Linked DNA regions of Homo sapiens: all the other regions are linked to region 1. The links are contacts of gene promoters, found by promoter capture Hi-C in blood cells and fetal thymus (Javierre and others, 2016). All regions are on one chromosome and are shown on one strand. Each heading gives the region's core, a stretch centred on a gene start or on the middle of the fragment in contact. The rest is flanking DNA. Distances are from core to core; before and after follow the strand shown.

What was found. The method cuts DNA at HindIII sites, captures the fragments that hold promoters and counts their contacts. A CHiCAGO score of 5 or more calls a contact.
Region 2: a contact is called between a fragment that was not itself captured here and the fragment with the promoter of BRD9 in region 1, in 1 of 17 cell types (total B cells). The highest score is 7.1, in total B cells.
Region 3: a fragment that was not itself captured here is called in contact with the fragment with the promoter of BRD9 in region 1 in 3 of 17 cell types (fetal thymus, naive CD4 T cells and naive B cells); the score reaches 6.8 in fetal thymus.
Region 4: a contact is called between the fragment with the promoter of LRRC14B here and the fragment with the promoter of BRD9 in region 1, in 2 of 17 cell types (total B cells and naive B cells). The highest score is 6.3, in total B cells.

What each region holds. Positions count from the first base shown.
Region 1 is chr5:891,050-895,501 of GRCh38, reverse strand. It overlaps BRD9 (bromodomain containing 9), which reads left to right and starts at 2,701. Exons shown (of 16, transcript NM_023924.5): 1 at 2,701-2,896; 2 at 3,648-3,862; 3 at 4,215-4,347. The coding sequence starts at 2,845. It overlaps TRIP13 (thyroid hormone receptor interactor 13), which reads right to left and starts at 2,618. Exons shown (of 13, transcript NM_004237.4): 1 at 2,412-2,618; 2 at 550-715. The coding sequence starts at 2,503. RefSeq lists silencers at 2,332-2,951, 3,142-3,360 and an enhancer at 2,700-3,332. The HindIII fragment of the contact is 13,625 bases long and covers 1-4,452 here.
Region 2 is chr5:1,667,861-1,672,312 of GRCh38, reverse strand. No RefSeq gene overlaps it. Among named protein-coding and RNA genes, the nearest start is that of MIR4277, 39 kb to the left of the region's middle. The HindIII fragment of the contact is 274 bases long and covers 1,903-2,176 here.
Region 3 is chr5:1,648,753-1,653,204 of GRCh38, reverse strand. No RefSeq gene overlaps it. Among named protein-coding and RNA genes, the nearest start is that of MIR4277, 58 kb to the left of the region's middle. The HindIII fragment of the contact is 4,657 bases long and covers 1-4,403 here.
Region 4 is chr5:189,083-193,534 of GRCh38, reverse strand. LRRC14B (leucine rich repeat containing 14B) reads right to left here and starts at 2,040. Exons shown (of 2, transcript NM_001080478.3): 1 at 1,098-2,040. The coding sequence starts at 1,996. LOC124900929 (a long non-coding RNA gene) reads left to right here. Exons shown (of 2, transcript XR_007058670.1): 2 at 547-807. PLEKHG4B (pleckstrin homology and RhoGEF domain containing G4B) reads right to left here. Exons shown (of 20, transcript NM_052909.5): 20 at 3,569-4,452. RefSeq lists enhancers at 2,326-2,375, 4,441-4,452. The HindIII fragment of the contact is 5,007 bases long and covers 1-3,243 here.

The DNA of each region.
Region 1 (4,452 bases), core at 1,452-3,951:
GTAAGTGATAAGTCTTCCTTAGGAATGTTTCAGGTTGTTTTTATACTGGTGCCAGAATCGCCCCAATGCCTCCACGCCCTCACACAAAGCTCCTCTAACCCATACGCATCAACTCAGATGGTGGGTGAGGTGGCCATGCATGGGATGAGATAAAGGAATTCTATAAGGCAAGCCCATCTTCTCATCTCTGTGGCCCCACACCTCCTATGGTCCTAGCACACACTGAGCACTTTATAAACATTTGCTGATTGAAAGAATGAGACATGGCACACAGGCCTTACCAGCGCAGCCCACTATTGTACAGCACTGCATTCTCATTCCTGGTTTCCAATCTGTTACTGCTATACTGAGAGCACCCCGACATCAGGGCTACTTCCTACTCCCAGCACCTGGCTCCTGACAGCTAGTGAAAAGAACTTGTCTAGCCACCCAAACCAACAGAGAAGTGAACCTGTTTCTGACAACAGGCTATGAAAACGGCAAGACATTCATGATACAACCTTTTGTATTCAGCTAACTGTTCCTTGGCCCAGCAAATTAGTAACTTACCTGTGAGTCTTTAACCTTTAATTCTGTGTCAATAATAGACACAGACTGCACATTTCTGGTCAAAAAAGGTTCATCAAACTCAGTCCATGTGTAATCACCAAACACAATATTATGTCTGTTGAGTAGCTTTCTAACACTCAGGTTTATGTCTTCTTTCTTTGCAGTGCTAAAAAAAGAAGCCAAAACACACATAAATGATCTTAGTTCAAAAACAAAATGTTAAAATGAAGTGTTTTGAAAAACTCAGACAATACATAAGAAAGCCCAGTAGTTAACAGGGTAAGTTGGAGTTGGCCTGCCTGGGACCAAATCTAGAGCCACCCCTTGCCTGTGGGTCCTCTACCAGCTGTGCCCTGAAGAAGCTGTGCCTCAGCTCCCAGTTAGAAAAAGGGGACAACAGTAAGAGTTCTCGCTATGCTGGGCTACTGTGAAGTCATTAATACACTCAAAGTGTTTAGGACGATACCTGGCACATAGTAAGCACGCAATAATGTTGGCTTTCACTATTACTAATGAAGTTCCACAGCTGTGGGGTCAGGCCTGGGGTCTGCATTGTAACAAGTCTCCAATAGCCGTGATTCGTGCTGAGAAAATCTAATGCTTTCAGCTTGGTATCCAGGGCTTCCCTTGGTCCCCCTTGCTGCAGTCCTCCTAACACCTCCCCTTTCTACAACAGTGACCTGGTCCCGGATCACACCTCTGTGCCCTGCTATGCACTGTCCCAGCTTACTGGCCTGATCAACTGCAGTCACCCTCTAAGTCCTATTCAATGTCTGCCTCCCTCTGAGCCCTCCTGGACAGGCTCCTCAGAGCCAGGCAGGTGACATGTGGCCCCTTTGCAATCGTCCCAGCACCCTACAAGCAGCGACCACCATGCATAGTGCGGTTGTGTGCAGGTGTCTATGAACTCTGGTGCAGTTGTACGTAGGTGTCTGTCCTCTAGGTGCAGCTGTGCTCTGGTGTGATTATGCCTAGCGTCTCTGGGCCCAGGTGTGGTTGTACATGGGGTGTCTCTAGGCTGCGGTGGCACTGTGTACAGGTGTCTCTGAGCGCTAAGGTGTTTACACAGGTGTCGCCAGGCTGTGATGGGGCTTTGTGCAGGTGTCTCTGGGCCCTGGTGCAATTATGCTGACGTGTCTGAACTCCAGCACCTAGAAAATACCCAGTCAACAGCTATTCTGTTAAAGGAAAGGTCTCTTCCTCTGCATCCCCTCTGAGGCTGGTGGTCTCACCTGACCTCAATCCACCCTCCGTGGACATAAGGAGGGTCTGTGAAGGTCTGGCCCCGCCGCTGAGTTCCCCCCACTCCAGGGAGCAGCACAGCCCACAGGCCCCACCATACCATGAACTGACTTGGTCACAAATGAGTGGGATGTGCTTTGAACCCTAAAAATTTAACATCGAGTCCGTGAGGAACGGGAACAATTAAAGGGTCTGAGAAGCAGTGGCTCAAAGAATAACCACCCAGCTTTCGGCTGAGACTAGAGCTCTCTGTAATGCGCAGCCATCCTATTCTCCAACGTGGGACTCAGGGCCACATCAATGCACTGGAGGACAGCCGGGGCAGGGGCAGGGTCAGGGCCAGGTCCGTGAGCTGAGGTCGGGTCGGGGCTCAATCTGTGAGCTGGGGTCCTGCGCGCAGGGCTCGGGTCGGCCGGGTCAGTGCCCTGCGGTGGGGTCGCGTCATTGCGCTAGGATCCGGTCGGGGCCCGGCGGCCTGTGCGCCCGGGTCCAGTCGGGCCGGATCAGTACCCTGGGGTTCGGTCGCATCAGAATCAGTGCGCTGGGGTCGGGGCTCGGTGCACGCGCTGGGGTCGGGGCGGGTGGGTGCCCAGAGGATGTGTCGGACAGGTCCGGCTCACCTGCTGCCGCGCTGATGCACCTCCACGTGGACCGTTGGCGACTCGGCCACACAGGGAAGCGCCTGCTTCAGGTCGCCCACGGCCTCGTCCATGGCGCCCCCGAGAGCAGTGGGGACCCAACCAGGGCGCGGCCGCCGCCACCTCACGCCCAGCGTCGCCGCCACAGCCGCTGCCTCAGCCCGCGGGCCCCGCCCTAGCTTCGAATCTGCCGCGCGAGGCGCACCACCTCCTGACCCGGAAGCGCTCGGGCCCGGCAGGGCCACTTCCTGCCGCGGCCCCGCCTCGCCCCGTTTCCGGCGCGGCCCAGCGAGCTCGGCAACCTCGGCGCAGCGAGCGCGGGCGGCCAGCCAGGGCCAGGGGGCGGTGGCGGCCAAGGTCCGACCGGGTGCCAGCTGTTCCCAGCCCCCGCCTCGGGCCCGCCGCCGGCGCCGCCATGGGCAAGAAGCACAAGAAGCACAAGGCCGAGTGGCGCTCGTCCTACGAGGGTGAGGCGGCGGCGCTTTGTGACGCGCGGCGGGCGGGGTCCCGGGCACGGGGGAGGAGTTCCGGGCACGCGGACGGGGGTCCTGGGCACCGGGCGAGGTCCTGGCCACGAGGGAGGGGTTCTGGGCACGCGGGAGGGGGTCCTGGGATTTCGGGCAGGGAACCGGGCACACGTGAGGGGTCCTGGGTAGGCGCTTACGTTCCTGGTAGAGGGTTCTGGGTTCGAGGCTGCAAGCCCACTCACCCCGGTCCTGGAGACTAGGGAAGCATCTGTGCTGGCTTTTGTGTGGAGCTCAGGGAGAAGCTGGGCTGCCCTTTCTCCCGCCTTTCCCTCCCTCTCCCTTGCTCCCGCAGCAGCTCCATGGGTGTCAGCGGGCAGCACGGGCGCCTGCAGGAAGTCAGGCGAGGGTGAACCGAAGTGCTGGGGGTTTCTAGGAGGGAGATCGGGCTCCGGGGTTCCAGGTCCCTCTTAATCCATCTTCTTGAACGAGTAATGTGAACAACATCCCACAGGGCCTCTGGTGAGGACACCGTGGCTCGAAAGGGACCTGAAGCTCCCTGCGGAGGGGAAGGGAGAACAAGGAGGCAGTGACATGCCGCCACTGTGGTCTTCCCTTCCGTCTTTCCCTGCTGGTTGGCAGCCCCGCTGTACTCCTTAGGGAGGCCTTTCCCTCTTAGCACCTTCACGTCTCACCTGGCTGCGTGGCGTTTGCACCTGAGCACGCGGGTAGAACTCGGTCTGTGTCTGTGCAGATTATGCCGACAAGCCCCTGGAGAAGCCTCTAAAGCTAGTCCTGAAGGTCGGAGGAAGTGAAGTGACTGAACTCTCAGGATCCGGCCACGACTCCAGTTACTATGATGACAGGTCAGACCATGAGCGAGAGAGGCACAAAGAAAAGAAAAAGAAGAAGAAGAAGAAGTCCGAGAAGGAGAAGCATCTGGACGATGAGGAAAGAAGGAAGCGAAAGGTAAAGGAGCAGCGGCGGTGGCCCGGACGCTGCCCACGAGGAGCCCGTGGGGAGCCTGGTCCCAGGACCCAGGCAGAGTGCGCCTGCGTGGCTGGAGGAGGGGAGGGGGTGTTCCGTTGGTAGCAAAACGCGAACCGCTGAGGCCCGCAGACTCAGTTCCAGGATCCTGGGTGTGCTGTTCCTCAGCAGACCCTGCCAGGGTCTCTGTGAGGAGGGAGCCTGGCATGAGGAGGATCTCGGAGGGGGTTTCCCTTAGTTCTGTCCCTCCCCTGAGAACTGCGAGGGGATTGGGCAGACCTGTCCGGATCCCGCCTACTCCTGCCTTTCTCACTCCCTTGACTCTGCCGCCCAGGAAGAGAAGAAGCGGAAGCGAGAGAGGGAGCACTGTGACACGGAGGGAGAGGCTGACGACTTTGATCCTGGGAAGAAGGTGGAGGTGGAGCCGCCCCCAGATCGGCCAGTCCGAGCGTGCCGGACACAGCCAGGCAAGGGTGCACTTTTAGAGACTCTCCTGGTGTTCACAGCTCATCGTTGTAAATGAGGGGTCGGCACCGTGTCCTGTTGCTTTGGGGAGAAGCATGGGAGGGAGG
Region 2 (4,452 bases), core at 790-3,289, 780 kb before region 1:
CTTTTCAGTGATGGTGAATGAGCTAATAAAAATTACACTGCGTGGCAAAGGGCAGTGATGGTTCCTTACTCACCCCCGTGGGGCCGACTACTTTGTTCCCTCAACCCCCGGATAATGTTGACTTGTGCTGATGCTGTCAGATTTCCTATGGTCAGTCCTTTTTTGGAAAAACAAGGCTCCCCTGTAACCAAAAGAAAAGTTGACATGTCCCCGGGGCCTGCAGTTATGGGTGGGGCTTGAACGTCACCCGAGTCTAAGCAGCTCTCTGCCCGTGAAGCTGGGGGTGGCACAGCCCCTCTGCCCCTGAGCGACCCCACGCACACCCCTAATCTCCACTCCTCGCTCACAGACGTCATGTCAGCAGCTTGAAATGAGCCAGGGTGGGGGTATTAACACCACGGAAGTCAGCGCACACTGCAGATCAGGGCTGTCTTCCCCAGACATAGAGCTTCCCAATATTTACAATCACGCCACGGGAGTACACTAGGAAAAATATGTTGAGAGCCCGGGTGATCTTCCTCATGCATTGGAAATATAAAATTAAATCAAATTTAAAAACTAGAGGGTCAACATTTGACAACGGTTCATACATGAAAGCATAAGAATAAAACTACTATAAAGTAAATTTTAGTGACAAGTTTTTTTAGTGGCGATAATACGTACGAGTCCTTTTTAATGCTTTAACATGGGGATTGATGCCACCGTCACAGGGCAGCCACGCCCCTCGCCCGAGACTCTGGGAGTTGCTCTGCAACAGCACTTGGGAGGCCTGGGGTGCCTCCCATGGACACAGCACCATCCGTTTTCAAGCGATCACTTTAAGAGAAGCGCCATGAATGAAATCCATCAGCCACCCTAAGTTTCTCCAGCATATGGCTGGCTCATGAAAACAGAAATGCCCTCCAACTTCAACCTATGAGGCCTTGAGCCTGTTTGGGCAGGAGCTGGTGCTTCTGGTGCTGCGGCCAGATGCTGTGCCTGGTACCTCAAGCATGAAATCAAGAAAACTCTTCCAGCTCAGGTTTATGACATTACTGGTCAATGTCACAGAGGAATACAAAGCTTCTCTATCTTTCCTAACCACGCAGTCCATGCTTGGGCAATTCACTGAACAATGGCGATGAAACACCCTCATCTCTATCTCTGCACGCCAAACACAGAATTCTCTCTTGGCCCCCTTACAGGGCTGATGTATGAGCCAAACCTGGCCCAAGGAGGAGTCCCAAAAGGTTGCAGAAGAGCCGATTATCCACCCCATGATACCCACATTCCCACCCGCCTTCCATCTCTCAGGAATCAGGAATCAGAAGGGGTCTACTTTTCCCAGAAAACCTTTATTGCTTCTACCTGGGTACTTTCACTGGTCCCAGGAAGGGAGAACACATTCAGGTAGGATTAAGTTCTACTGTTTCCAAATTTGGAAAGGAAAGTTCTTTTGTCCTCCAACATTTGGGAAGGAGAAGTGATGCTTAAAAGAGAGCCCCTCAATGGAGTATCTCAAGGCTCTTCAAACAGGTGACTTCGTCTTATGAATAAATTATGGAAACTCCTTCTTCTTCCAGAGTTAGCAATGTTACAATTAATTATGTACCTGATGACAATGGATTTGGAAATATGGAAACGTGTCATGAATGTCTCAATGTGTGATCAAGACTTTTCTGTAAGTAGCTGAGTCACCATCACCAGAACCTCTTCCTCTTGCAAATGAGCCTTCAGCTGCAGACTAGACTCCCAGGATGGTGGGCAGGTCAGCTGATGGGGTGAGTGCATGTGCATGTGGGAGCCACACACGTGTGTGACTAACTGCATTTGGCACTATTTATTGTCTGTGCTTCTTTTCCTTTGTAAGAGCATTAAAAATTGACCACAGTATGTCATCATCCCAACTCTCCTTAAGAAGCTTCACTTTTCTTTCATGCTGCTAGCCTGCTGTAAGCATTTGTCTTGCTTTTAGATATTACCTAAGATAATAGAATTCCAAAGTAGACACCTACATTCTCAGCTTTTGAACTTTCCCTGTGACTTATGTGTCCTGAGCACAAGGCCATCTTTATATTGCGATGAACAGAATCTGGCTGAAGATTTCTATACACTGTCTCCTTCCCACTCCGTGCAGTGCACATCTGTGCTTGGCAAGCCTGCAATGCTCACAGCCCCTGCTTGAGGGTGGAAAGCTTCAAACACCCAGGGAGTCCTGTGCCTGAGCCAGCTTTGCTCGTCCAGGTCCAAGGTAGACAAGTGGGGTTTAGGGGTGAATGGGGGGTGGGCCCTGCTCATCACCTTCCTCAAGCTGAGAGTGCTGATGGACAGGGCCTCCACAGTACTCAGCCCTTACCCTTCACCCTTATCCTCAGCTTTACACAATGGACGTGACAAGGCAAACCCTGGCCTGAGGAAAGGGGGTCCACACTCTGTCCTGTTTCCAGGCCTGGGAACCCCCGGCTCTCTGTGTGCTGTGGAAAGGGCTGGAGGGAGCCGGTGTGCAGCTGCTGGGCTTCTGCAGATGTGCGTCCTCAGAGCTTGGTGCCCCCGGCTTTCTTTGCCGTGCCGTTCTCTGTGGCACAAGTCTTCTTTTTAGCTGAAGCCTCCTTCTGTAGACCCCAGGCCCCTCCCTGTCCTCTCCTCTGAGAGGTATGGCACTTGACTAGGCAGCCAAGAAATCCTGATGCTGGCAGGGTCCACGGGAACAGGCTGGGCAGGACCATGGTCAGGGGTCTGTCTTAGACACAGCCCTTACCAGATAGCTGAGGCCCTACAGAGGCGTAGAGGGCCAGGGAAGTCACTGCCCTACTGCCACATACCCAGGATGCATGGTTCACCATGCCCCCAGCTCTGGCACTCACACAAGCCCACAAGTTCAGGGTCCCAGCTCTCTTGCACAAACCCTGTCCCCACCCTGCTGGCTCATCATGCCTCAGATACACATGAGCCTCAGATTCATGTGGCCAGATCTTAGCCTCCTTCATCACCAGGTCTGCTGGCTGCATGCTGTGAACCCCAAAATTCTGAGACAGGTCTCAATTTAGAAAGTTTATTTTGCCAAGGTTGAGGCTGCGCAGCTGTGACAGCCTCAGGAGGTCCTGCCGACATGTACCCAAGGTGGTCAGAGCACAGCTTGGTTTTATATATTTTAGGGAGATATGGGACATCAATCAGCATGTGTAAGATGAACATTGGTTTGGTCTGGAAACGTGGGACAATTCAAAGCAAAGGCGGGACAACTCGAGGAAGGGCTTCCAGGTCAAAGGTAGGTAAGAGACAGATGGCTGCGTTCTTTTGAGCTTGTGATGAGCCTCTCCAAAGGAGGCAATCAGATCTGCATTCATCTCAGTGAGCAGGGGGAGACTTTGAATAGAAAGGGAGGCAGGTTTGCTCTAAGCAGTTCCCAACTTGACTCTTCCCTTTAGCTTAGTGATGTGGGGACCCCAGACTTATTTTCCTTTCACAATGCCCACAGCACCCATCCAGGAAGACACCTCATCATAGAGAGGGGTTCAACGTGGAGCTGGGGACACTGGTGGGGACGTGGGAGCCTCGACATTTCCTCCACAGCTGCTCACTGCCCTCGACAAGCTTGGGTCTCTGCACACAGCTCTAACCCGCAGAACACGCTGCGGGATTCCTGTGTCCCACGGTCCCCAGCGCTGGCCCTCCTCTCCCGAGGCCAACAGCGACCTTCCAGCTTTCGGAGCTTGTTGCCGCTCTGCTGTCTTCACTGGCTAGACACCCCCACACTCTCTTCCCTGTCAAGGCCACCCTCTCCTGCGGGCGGGGCTCCGTGAGTCACACTCTCACCCCCTCCCCCAACACAGCCGCAGCACGCAGCCCCCACACCTGCCAGCCCCCACGCCTCCCTGCACACCTGCTCTCTCTCAGGCAGGAGAGCTCACTGCACCTGCAAGGTAGGCAGAGGCCAGGCTGGGGAGGACACACCTAGCCCTGTCCTGCCCTCGCCCCCAGGGTGGCCAGAAAGACTGCAGAAGGTCCCCGCAGGCAGATGTGAGCACTGCGGGTTATTCCAGGCACTGCCCCAACCCCTACTGAAAAGCCCATTTTCACCACAACCCCAGGCTGGGCCACAACCCCCCGGATCACCCACGGCCGCGAGAAACCTGCAGAGCGCCCTGCAGACAGGGCAAAAGGGAACCCAGGCCCCAAGGGGGACTTCAGGCCTCCAAACCCAGAGATTTCTCTGCAAGCTCGTGCCCTTGAGGGCTGGGGGTGGGGAGCCCAGCGCCAGGCCTGGCCGCGCAAATGCTGGGGGACAGGAGCCTCCAGGGCCGGGGAGAATACCCGCCTGTCCAGGGTACAGAAGTGGAGGTCAGGGGAGAACCTGGAGGTGGGAACGCGGAGTTCCATCCGGGGCGAGACCCCTCTCCCAGCGCAGGATGAGGGGGAAATTCTGCCATAGACTCCCGGGACACCTCTCCCGAGCCCGGGGCACAGCGGAAT
Region 3 (4,452 bases), core at 826-3,325, 760 kb before region 1:
GGCTGACCTGGCACTCCGAGAGGACCCAGCTCCCAGTCTCCCCAGCTAGCTCTCAAAACACGAACGTCAAGTTTTCATCGGGAAACCGGCGCTGTCAGTGGCTTCCACCACCAAGCTAGCTCTGCCTGGCTGTCACCCAAATGCCAAGGGCCTGTTTTGGAAAGCATCAACCACAAGTTCCTTGTGAGGCCTCGGCGTGGCCTGCCAGGGTCCCTCCCCTCACAGAGAGACACCCGGCCCAAGCTGGCTCTTCCCCACCGCCCAAGCCTCAGCCACGCCCCATCTTCCTCGTGTCCCCCCAGCAAGTCACCAGGCTGGTGGGGGCCCAAGGAAGCAGGAGCAGAGTCTACTCTGATCGTGTTCATTCCTAAGTCCCTCCCTCCTGCCCCAACCTAAAACCCACTTGTGGGGAAGGAGGGCCAGTCCAGCCTCCAACAGGGAGGGCACTCCTGATATCCTCCCCTGGACCCTTTGCCCTCAGGGCCCCCCACACTGGGTGTGACATAGGGTGGCCCCTGGGAGCACTTGGCTGCTGTCCTGCACAGGGCACCTGGGAGACCCACAGCATCCTCCCTGCACCCGGCCCTCGCCCCACCTCACAGCATCCTGCGAGGCTGGCCAGATCCCATGGCCACACGGCCAGATCATGGATTTCCAAGCCCTGGCTCTCTCCTACATCCTGTTACACTCATGTGGTCCCTGGAGTGGGTTAGGGACAGCATGGCCAGCCTGGCCCTCTGGAGAAGCACGGAACTGTGGTGGGAGCAGGCAGAGGGACAGGCCGCCATGGATTGTTCCAGGACCCCCCATGGCGAGGGACCCCATTCTCCCTGAGAATTTATCTGTTCTTGTCCCACTCTCAGGCTCCTCCTAAGAATGGGCCCTGCCCTTCCCTTGCCCAGCACCTCCCCCACAGCCTCTGCTTGTGCACCCACCCTGCCCCACATTCGGGGGCCTGAGGAGCCCTCACCTTGAGACCCCTCCTCTCGAAAGGTCCCTGACCACCCACCCACTCCAGGCACCCCCTTCTTCCCCAGGGAACTTCCACCCTGTCTGGGCCATTGCTCCAGACCCTCCATCCCCTCATCAACCTTCGGGGCAGGAGATCAAAGAAAAACCAGGCTGCCTTGTTCTCAGCAGGAGCTCAGCAGGAGCCCAGGGCCTGGCAGAGGCTCTTCGGGTCACAGGATGAGCCAAGGAAGGGAAGAGTGACACTGTCCCAGGCCCCGAGGACCCAGGCCCCATGCCCCCATAGGCCCTGCCCCACAGGCCGGTCCTCCCCCAGCCCCACCCCTCCCCAGACCTCATCCCTCCCCAGCCTTACCCTCCCCAGCCCTGACATCTCCAGGCCACCCCTCCCCAGGCATCATCCCTCCCCAGCCTTGCCCTACCCCTGCCCTGCCCTCTGTGGCCCCCCCCTCCCCAGCCCCACCTTCCCCAGGCCTCACCCCTCCCCAGGCCTCATCCCTCCCCCAGCCCCACCCCTCCCCAGCCCTACCTTCTTCCAGCCCCACCTTCCCCAGGCCTCACCCCTCCCCATCCCCCACTCTTCCCAGGCCCTACCCTCCCCAGGCCTCACCCCTCCCCATCCCCCACTCTTCCCAGGCCCTACCCTCCCCAGGCCTCACCCCTCCCCAGGCCTCATCCCTCCCCAGCCCCGCCCTCCCCTGACCCCACTCTCCCCAGCCCCACCCTTTTCTGGCCCTGCCCTCCCCAGGACCCACCCCAGCCCTCACGGTGCGTCTGTCCAGCGAAGCTGTCTGGATCCCATGGCTGCACTGCCAGGTGGTGAGCTTCCAAGCCCTGGGCTCCCAGGACTCTGTCACTTTAGGGATCCCCTCCCACCCACCTCCAAACTCCTCATACCCCCCACCACCCTCACCCGAAGCCCCTGCTTCCCCACACCCGGGATGAACACCCAGTAATTAAGATGTTCAAGTATTTTCTTTCTTTCCATTTCTTTCTATTTACACACCTTCAAATTAAAATTGGAATAAAGTCGTCTGTATAACTTAATGCTCTCACTTAGCACGACCCTCTCATGAGTGTTTTCTCATGTTACTGGAAGTTCTTCAGCAGCACTGTCTACCTGTAGCGGCTGCCGAACACGACAGGATTTGCATTTGCCAGAATCGATTGAACTACTTCCATGAGGTTGGAAAGACGGACATTTAGGCCCTTTATTTCTTTATTTTATTTTTACCAACATTTTCTAAATGCTGCAAAATGAACACCTGGACCGTTTTGTTGTTTACTTGTTTACTCCTCCACATAGATCAGGGGTCTGCAAACGTGCTCTGCAGACAGCTAGAGAGTCAGTATTGTGCTGGGGGCGGGGACGGGGAAGATGGTCTCCACCGCACACTCTTCCTTATTCGCTAATCGTTTTCACAGTAACGGACCATTCCGAGCTCTTGGCCGTGCAGCAACAGGCCACAGAGCGGATTTTGACCACTTGCCAGTTTATCACCCTAAAGGCAGCATTGCTAGGTCAGCCACATTGGAAGGCTTCTGGTGCATATTACCAAACCCCTCTCCAGAACAAAATTATGCTGATACTTTTGCTACTAGTATCTGAAAACGCATATTCCTCTGAATATTTGCCAACATTGACTATTACTATTTTTAAGCAAATTGCTAAATTCATCGTTAAAACTCAAATTGCATCTTCCTGGGTTGTTGTGATTCTATTTCCACATCTAACTTCATTCGATTGCGCCTTCCTTCTTCCCGTAAGACCTCTAGACACTGAGGACATCAGATGTCAAAACCGTCACAGCGTGCTTCCGGTTTTTGTTGGATTTTGTTTGTTTTGTTATGGTGTTTTTTGAAGTGTCACAGGGTTTAATGTCTTTGTAATCAAATCTAAAATTTTTTGAAAAGTGTTTATTGATACATAATAATTGTACATATTTACAGGGCAGTTGTGATATTTTGATTGTGCACACAGCATGTAGTGATCAAATCAGGGTATGTAGTATATCCATCACTTGGAACATCTACTCTTTCTTTCTGTTGGGAAGATTCCAGTTCTTCTAGCTATTTTGAAATATACAGCGGACCAGGTGCAGTGGCTCACACCTGTAATCCCAGCGCTTTAGGAGGCCAAGGCAGGTGGATCACCTGAGGTCAGGAGTTCGAGACCAGCCTGGCCAACATGGCAAAACCCTGTCTCTACTGAAAACACAAAAATTAGCCAGGCATGGTGGCACACACCTGTAATCCCAGCTACTCGGGAGGCTGACAGGAGAATCGTTTGAACCCAGGAGGCGGAGGTTGCAGTGAGCCGAGATCATGCCTCCACTGCACTCCAGCCTGGAGTGAGACTCTGTCAAAAAGAAATAAAGAAAGTAAGAAAGAGAGAAAGAGAGAGAGAGAGAAAGAAAAAGAAAGAGAGAGAGAGAGAGAAAGAGAGAAAGAAAGAGAAAGAAGGAAAAGAAAGAGAGAAAGAGAGAGAGAGAAAGAAAGAAGGGAGGGAGGAAGGGAAGGAAGGAAGGAAGGAAGAAAGGAAGGAAGGAAACAGTAAATGATTGTTGCCTTTGGTCTGTGAACTGTTCTATGGAACATTGGAACTTACTCCTTCCCCTGACTGCATGTTTGTGCCCCGTAACCAGCCTCACTTTCTGTCTGCCTCTCACCCACACACCCTGCCCAGCCTCTGGGAACCACCAGCCAACTCTCTGCCTCTGTGAGAGCCACTCTTTCAGTGCCCACAAATGAGTGAGAACATGGTACATTTGTCTTTCTACCCCGGCTTACTTCCCTTAACATGACAGCCTTCAATTCCATCCATGTTGTTGCAGACGACATGATTTCATTCTTGTGTATGGCTGCAGAGTATTCCATCGCGAATAGATATCACGTGTTCTGTATCCATTCATCCATTGATAGGCACCTAGGTTGATTCCATATCTTTGCCATTGTGAACAGTGCTGCAGTAAACAGGGGGGCCCAGATTCCCTTTCACACAGGATTCCCTTTCCTTTGGATAAATACCCATCAGCGGGGATGGCTGGATCATAGGGTAGCTCTATTTTTAATTTTTTAAGAACTCAATCCTGTTGTCCATAGCGGCTGTACTCATTTACATTCCCACCTACAGTGTGTATGGTTCCCCTTTCTCCACATCCTCGCCAGCATTTGTTATGGTTTTTGTTTTTAATTAAAGCCATCTGAACTGGGGTAGATGATACCTCATTGTGGTTTTGATGTGCATTTCCCCAATGATTCATGATGTTGAGCATTTTTTCGCTTGCTTTTTGGGGCCAATATCCAGAATACACAAGGAAATCAAACAACAGAAAAAAATAGATAAATAAATAATCCCATAGAAAGTAGACAAAAGATCATTTCTCAACAGAAGACATATAAGTGGCCAAAAGGTTTATGGAAAATTCTAAGCTTTTAATCTTTGTGTTCCTTTCTTGTTTCAAGCAGTGTTTCTCTTTTTCT
Region 4 (4,452 bases), core at 791-3,290, 700 kb after region 1:
CCCCCACTTCAGGACCCACCACCAGGCACCCCTACCACCGCCAGGCACTTCTCCCCAAAACCCACTGCCAAACGCCCCACCAGGACCCACTGCCATGTGCCCCCAGCCCCCAGAACCCACCGCCAGGCACCCCCCAGCACCTGAGGACCCACCTCTAGGTGCTTCCCCAGTACCTACCAGGCACCCCTTCCCCCTAGACCCACTGCCAGGTCCCACCCCCAGGACCCAAAACTGGGTGCCCCCCGGACCCACCGCTAGGTTGCCCCACCAGGACCCATCACCCGGTGACCCCAATACCCACCGCCAGCTGCCCCTCCTTCAGGACCCACCACCAGGCTCCCTCCCAGCACCCATTGCCAGGCACCCCGTTCCCCAGGACCCATCACTGGGCACCCCCCTTGGACCCACCGCTAGGCACTCCCCCTCCAGGATCCACTGCTGGGCACCCCCCTTGGACCCACCGCCGGGCATCCCCCTCACCACTGCCTGAGGCTGCCTTGGCCTGGCCCCTTCCTAGCTGCTGCCCTCTCTGCCTCCTTCACGCAGATCTGCTGAGAGGATCCTGCATAAGCCTCCTGTCCCACCATGGGGAGGTCCATGCAGCATGGAGCCCAGGCCTCCCTCGAGGGAGACTGGGAGGATCCCGCCCTGTCAGGCCTTCGGATGAGATGGCACCCTTGGCCAACAGCAGCCCTGAGCCAAAGGCACCGACAGGCTCAGATTTCTGAGCTGAAATCGTGTTTGCTGTTTGAAGCCCCCAAGTGTTGGGGTGAGTCGTTCATCAACAATAGACAACTCCTCACACCACGTAGGCACTTCTGTTTCGTCTGTTTGGTAATTTCCGTATTCTCTTTTTTTAACTGGCATTCTCTCCACATCCCTAAGTCACACATGGCAGCCCGCTTCTTTCCTGGTGGCTCTGACTTTCGGTGCTCTTGCCCCTTGGCGGGGCCGCTGTCCTGTGGCTGTGGCCACACCCGGAGTGAGAGGCTGGAGGCCGTGTAGCCTCATGGCCTTGGACATGAGCAGGCCCCTGGACGATCTCTCCTTGCCTCTGCAGCCACCAGCCCGCCCTCAGTCCCCTCCCCAAGACTCACCCAAGCAGCGTCGGGATCTTCCCGGTCAGCGTGGAGAAGGCCACACTGAGCTCAGTGAGCTGCGCCATCTTGCTGAGCTCCCGGGCGATGGAGGCGAGGAGGGGGTCCTCGCCGTCGGGAGTGGAGGCGTAGGTGGGGGGTGCATCAAAGGCCTTGGTGGGCAGGGTGAGCGAGGCCAGCCGGGGGAAGCCCACCTGGGCCAGAAGCTGCTGCACGTGGCCCGCATGCAGCCGCACGTTGTGCACCACCTCCAGCTTGCGCAGGGCACCCGGGCCAGCCAGACGCAGCACGTGCAGGAGCTGGCTGGGGCTCAGGCTGTCCGCCCGGAACGAGGGGCAGTGCACCCGCAGAGGGGCCGGGCCCGCTGGCCTCAGAGCCTGCACCACCGCCTCGAAGTTGCCCTCAGTGACGAAGAGGTCGGCGAGGACCTCGACGGGGCGCCCGGCTGCGAGGGGCTCTGCCTGCAGCTCACAGCAGGTCCTGGCCAGCAGCTGGGTGCGGCCCCACCTGCCCAGCGCCCTCCCGCACGGGCACCGCTGCACCTGCACATCTCGGATGCCCGTGAGGTCAGCCACCCGCAGCCGCCGGCGGCTCCGGTCCTGCAGCACGTGGTCCGCGAGGCCGCGCACCAGCGCCTCCAGGCAGGCCCTGCAGGTTCTGTCGCGCAGGTCCTGGGGGTGGTCGGCACCAGGACCCAGCAGCGCTCCCAGCCGGAACTCCTCCAGGGGCCAGCGCCCCAGCACCGCGCGCGTCACCTCCGCCTGCTCCAGCAGGTAGCTGGCTTTGAACAGGAGTGGGTAGAGGTTGTGGGCCACGCTGTCCAGGCTCTGCCGGGCCACCTGGGGGTGGGACACCAGAGCTTCTGCAGAAATGAAGCGGAGTGACCTCATTGTGTCCATGGCCCGAGACAGGACCGCTCCCCACGACTTTCCCCAAGGCGTGTGCCCTTCACGCCTATCTTTAGCTGCAGCAGCTGTGAGCAGCCTGCCCTGGGGGCCCTGCCACGGGGCCTTATGATCATCTGACTGCTATTTTGGTCCTGGGACACCTGCGTCTGCCCGGCCTCGGGGCACGCAGCCGTTGGGAGCTGCTTGGCTCAGGCACCCAGCCGTTGGGAGCTGCTTGGCTCAGGCACCCAGCCGTTGGGAGCTGCTTGGCTCAGGCACCCAGCCGACACAGAAAGGCAGCCCGTGCCCATGGCAGGGCTGGGCAGAGAAGCCTGTGCTCCATGCTGCAGAAAGCCAGTCTTGGCAGGCGTTCGTGCTGGCGGCCGGTGAGGCCAGCGGGCAGGTCCTGTTTACCATCCAAGCGGGGCTACTGCCCAGCTCTGGGCACCTCCCCCACCAGTCAACGGGGCAGAGAACAGGCCAGGCCCCTGCGCCTCACTCGGTAACCAGTTCCCTTTCCACAGTGGCCTCTGGGGCCGCTCCCACACTTCGCCTCGCATCTGGGGTGAGACGAGTGGCCAGGAATGGAGCTGCTGTTTTGCCCCTTCCCTGTGCCTTTCCTTCTCCCCAAGGACCCGGCGGGGGTGGCTTCCCTACTTTCCATGGGAGAGAGTGGCTGGGAGAGGTGGAGCCTCCCTGATGGCCTCGGATGAGCCCCCAGCTCTCTCTGAGCTGCAGTGTCCTGTCTGCAACCCTGCCGCCTGTGCGGCAGGGAAAGCTGCAGGGAATGGGATACACCTGTGTTGGGGGGCGGTGCCTGATGGTTCACTCCCAGCACTGACCGTGTTGGACAGCTGATGGGTGCTGCACTCACCTCTCCCCGTGACACTGCCACTCAGGGCAGGGTCAGCACACATCGCTGCACACATCACTGCACACATCACTACAGGGCACCACGTGTCCATGGGCTTTGGAGGGTCACGGCCATGAGACAGAGGCTGAGGGAGACTGAGAGAAGTGAGTGACGGAGACTGAGACAGAGACAGAGGGACAGAAACTAAGAGGGAGAGAGACAGAGACTGAGGGAGAGAGAAAGGGAAACAGAAAGAGACAGACTGAGAGAGAGACAGAAAGGGAGAGACAGAGACTAAGAGAGAGAGAGAGAGACTGGTAGGCAGAGACAGAGACTGAGAAAGACAGACAGACGGGGAGACAGAAAGAGAAACAGCAGTGGGAGGGGGAAGGCTGCTGAGCAAGCTTGGAGGGTGCTGGTCATGGGTGCCCCACCAGCCTCCCTGTCTGACCCTCCCCAGTTTGTTCCCTGAGCCTGAGCAATGCCTCTCCCCGGGAGGCGACCCATGCAGAAGGGACTGTGCTCCGTTGTGGGGCCCAGGCACTGTCCAGCAGGCGGAGGTGTGTGTGAAGAGGTGGGTGGGCCCTGACCCCACCCTTCAGGGGTGGCCGCCCTCGGCCAGCCGATGTGGGCCCCCGGGCTCCCCTCATGAGGTGCACAAGAGGTTTCCCCAGACACACGGCCCCTTTCCAGGACCAGATAAGAGAATCTCGAAGGACACAGTAGAAAAACATGTTCCATTGGTTTTTATGATTAAAATTTTTAACAATTCAGTATTGATACAAAGTAAACACTTAACAACAGTGGCAGGTAACGCCATTTCCCAGACACCTTTTGGGTTCTGAAAAGTGGTTTCCAGAACCTTCCTTTACCTACTCGGGCTCTGTGTGGCCCAACACCCTGCTGTCACTGCGGGGCCCCTGGGTCTCGGAGGGTGGAGACCATGGCTAGGAAGGTCAGCCAAGGTCTGGGCCCCTGCAGCCTCCCTCTCGCTTACTGTTTTCCCTTCTTTTAGAGAGGGGTGGTCCTCTTGGGGTTCCCATTCCAGCAGGACCACTCAGCACAGGTTGGGTCAGACTCAGGCCCAGCTCTGGCGCCGCCGTCCCAACCTGGGGCCACGGCTCTGGGCTCCTTACAGGAAATGCCATGACAAACAGGCGTTCTTTCTCAGACCTAACTCAAGTGCTGTCCTGCTAACTACATGGGACCTGCTGAAACCGAAATGAACCGAGATTCCAGTTCTGTGCAGAGATGGCTGGACCTGCGTTGGGGACATGCCTGGACCACCCAGCCCACTGGCCTTCACTGGTCTGAAAGGTTGTGAGGTACACTGGTCCTAGGATGGCTCACCACGGCTCTGAGACACTGTGAGCCCGGCCATGGGCGGTGGACACGGGGTGAGGGGGTCTGGTGTTCCCACCCTGGGTCACCCCATGACCTTTGGAGGGCAGGAGGGTTCCAGGCTGCAGGAGCATGGGGGTCTGCAGCTGGCAGGCACTGCTGAGTCCCTGCTGGACCAGGGGTAGAGGAACCATCCAGGAGGAAAGCAAAAGAGGCCAGGCCTAGGGGGCAGGGCCCATTATGGGCGACTGCAGGCCCCGAACGGCAATGCTGA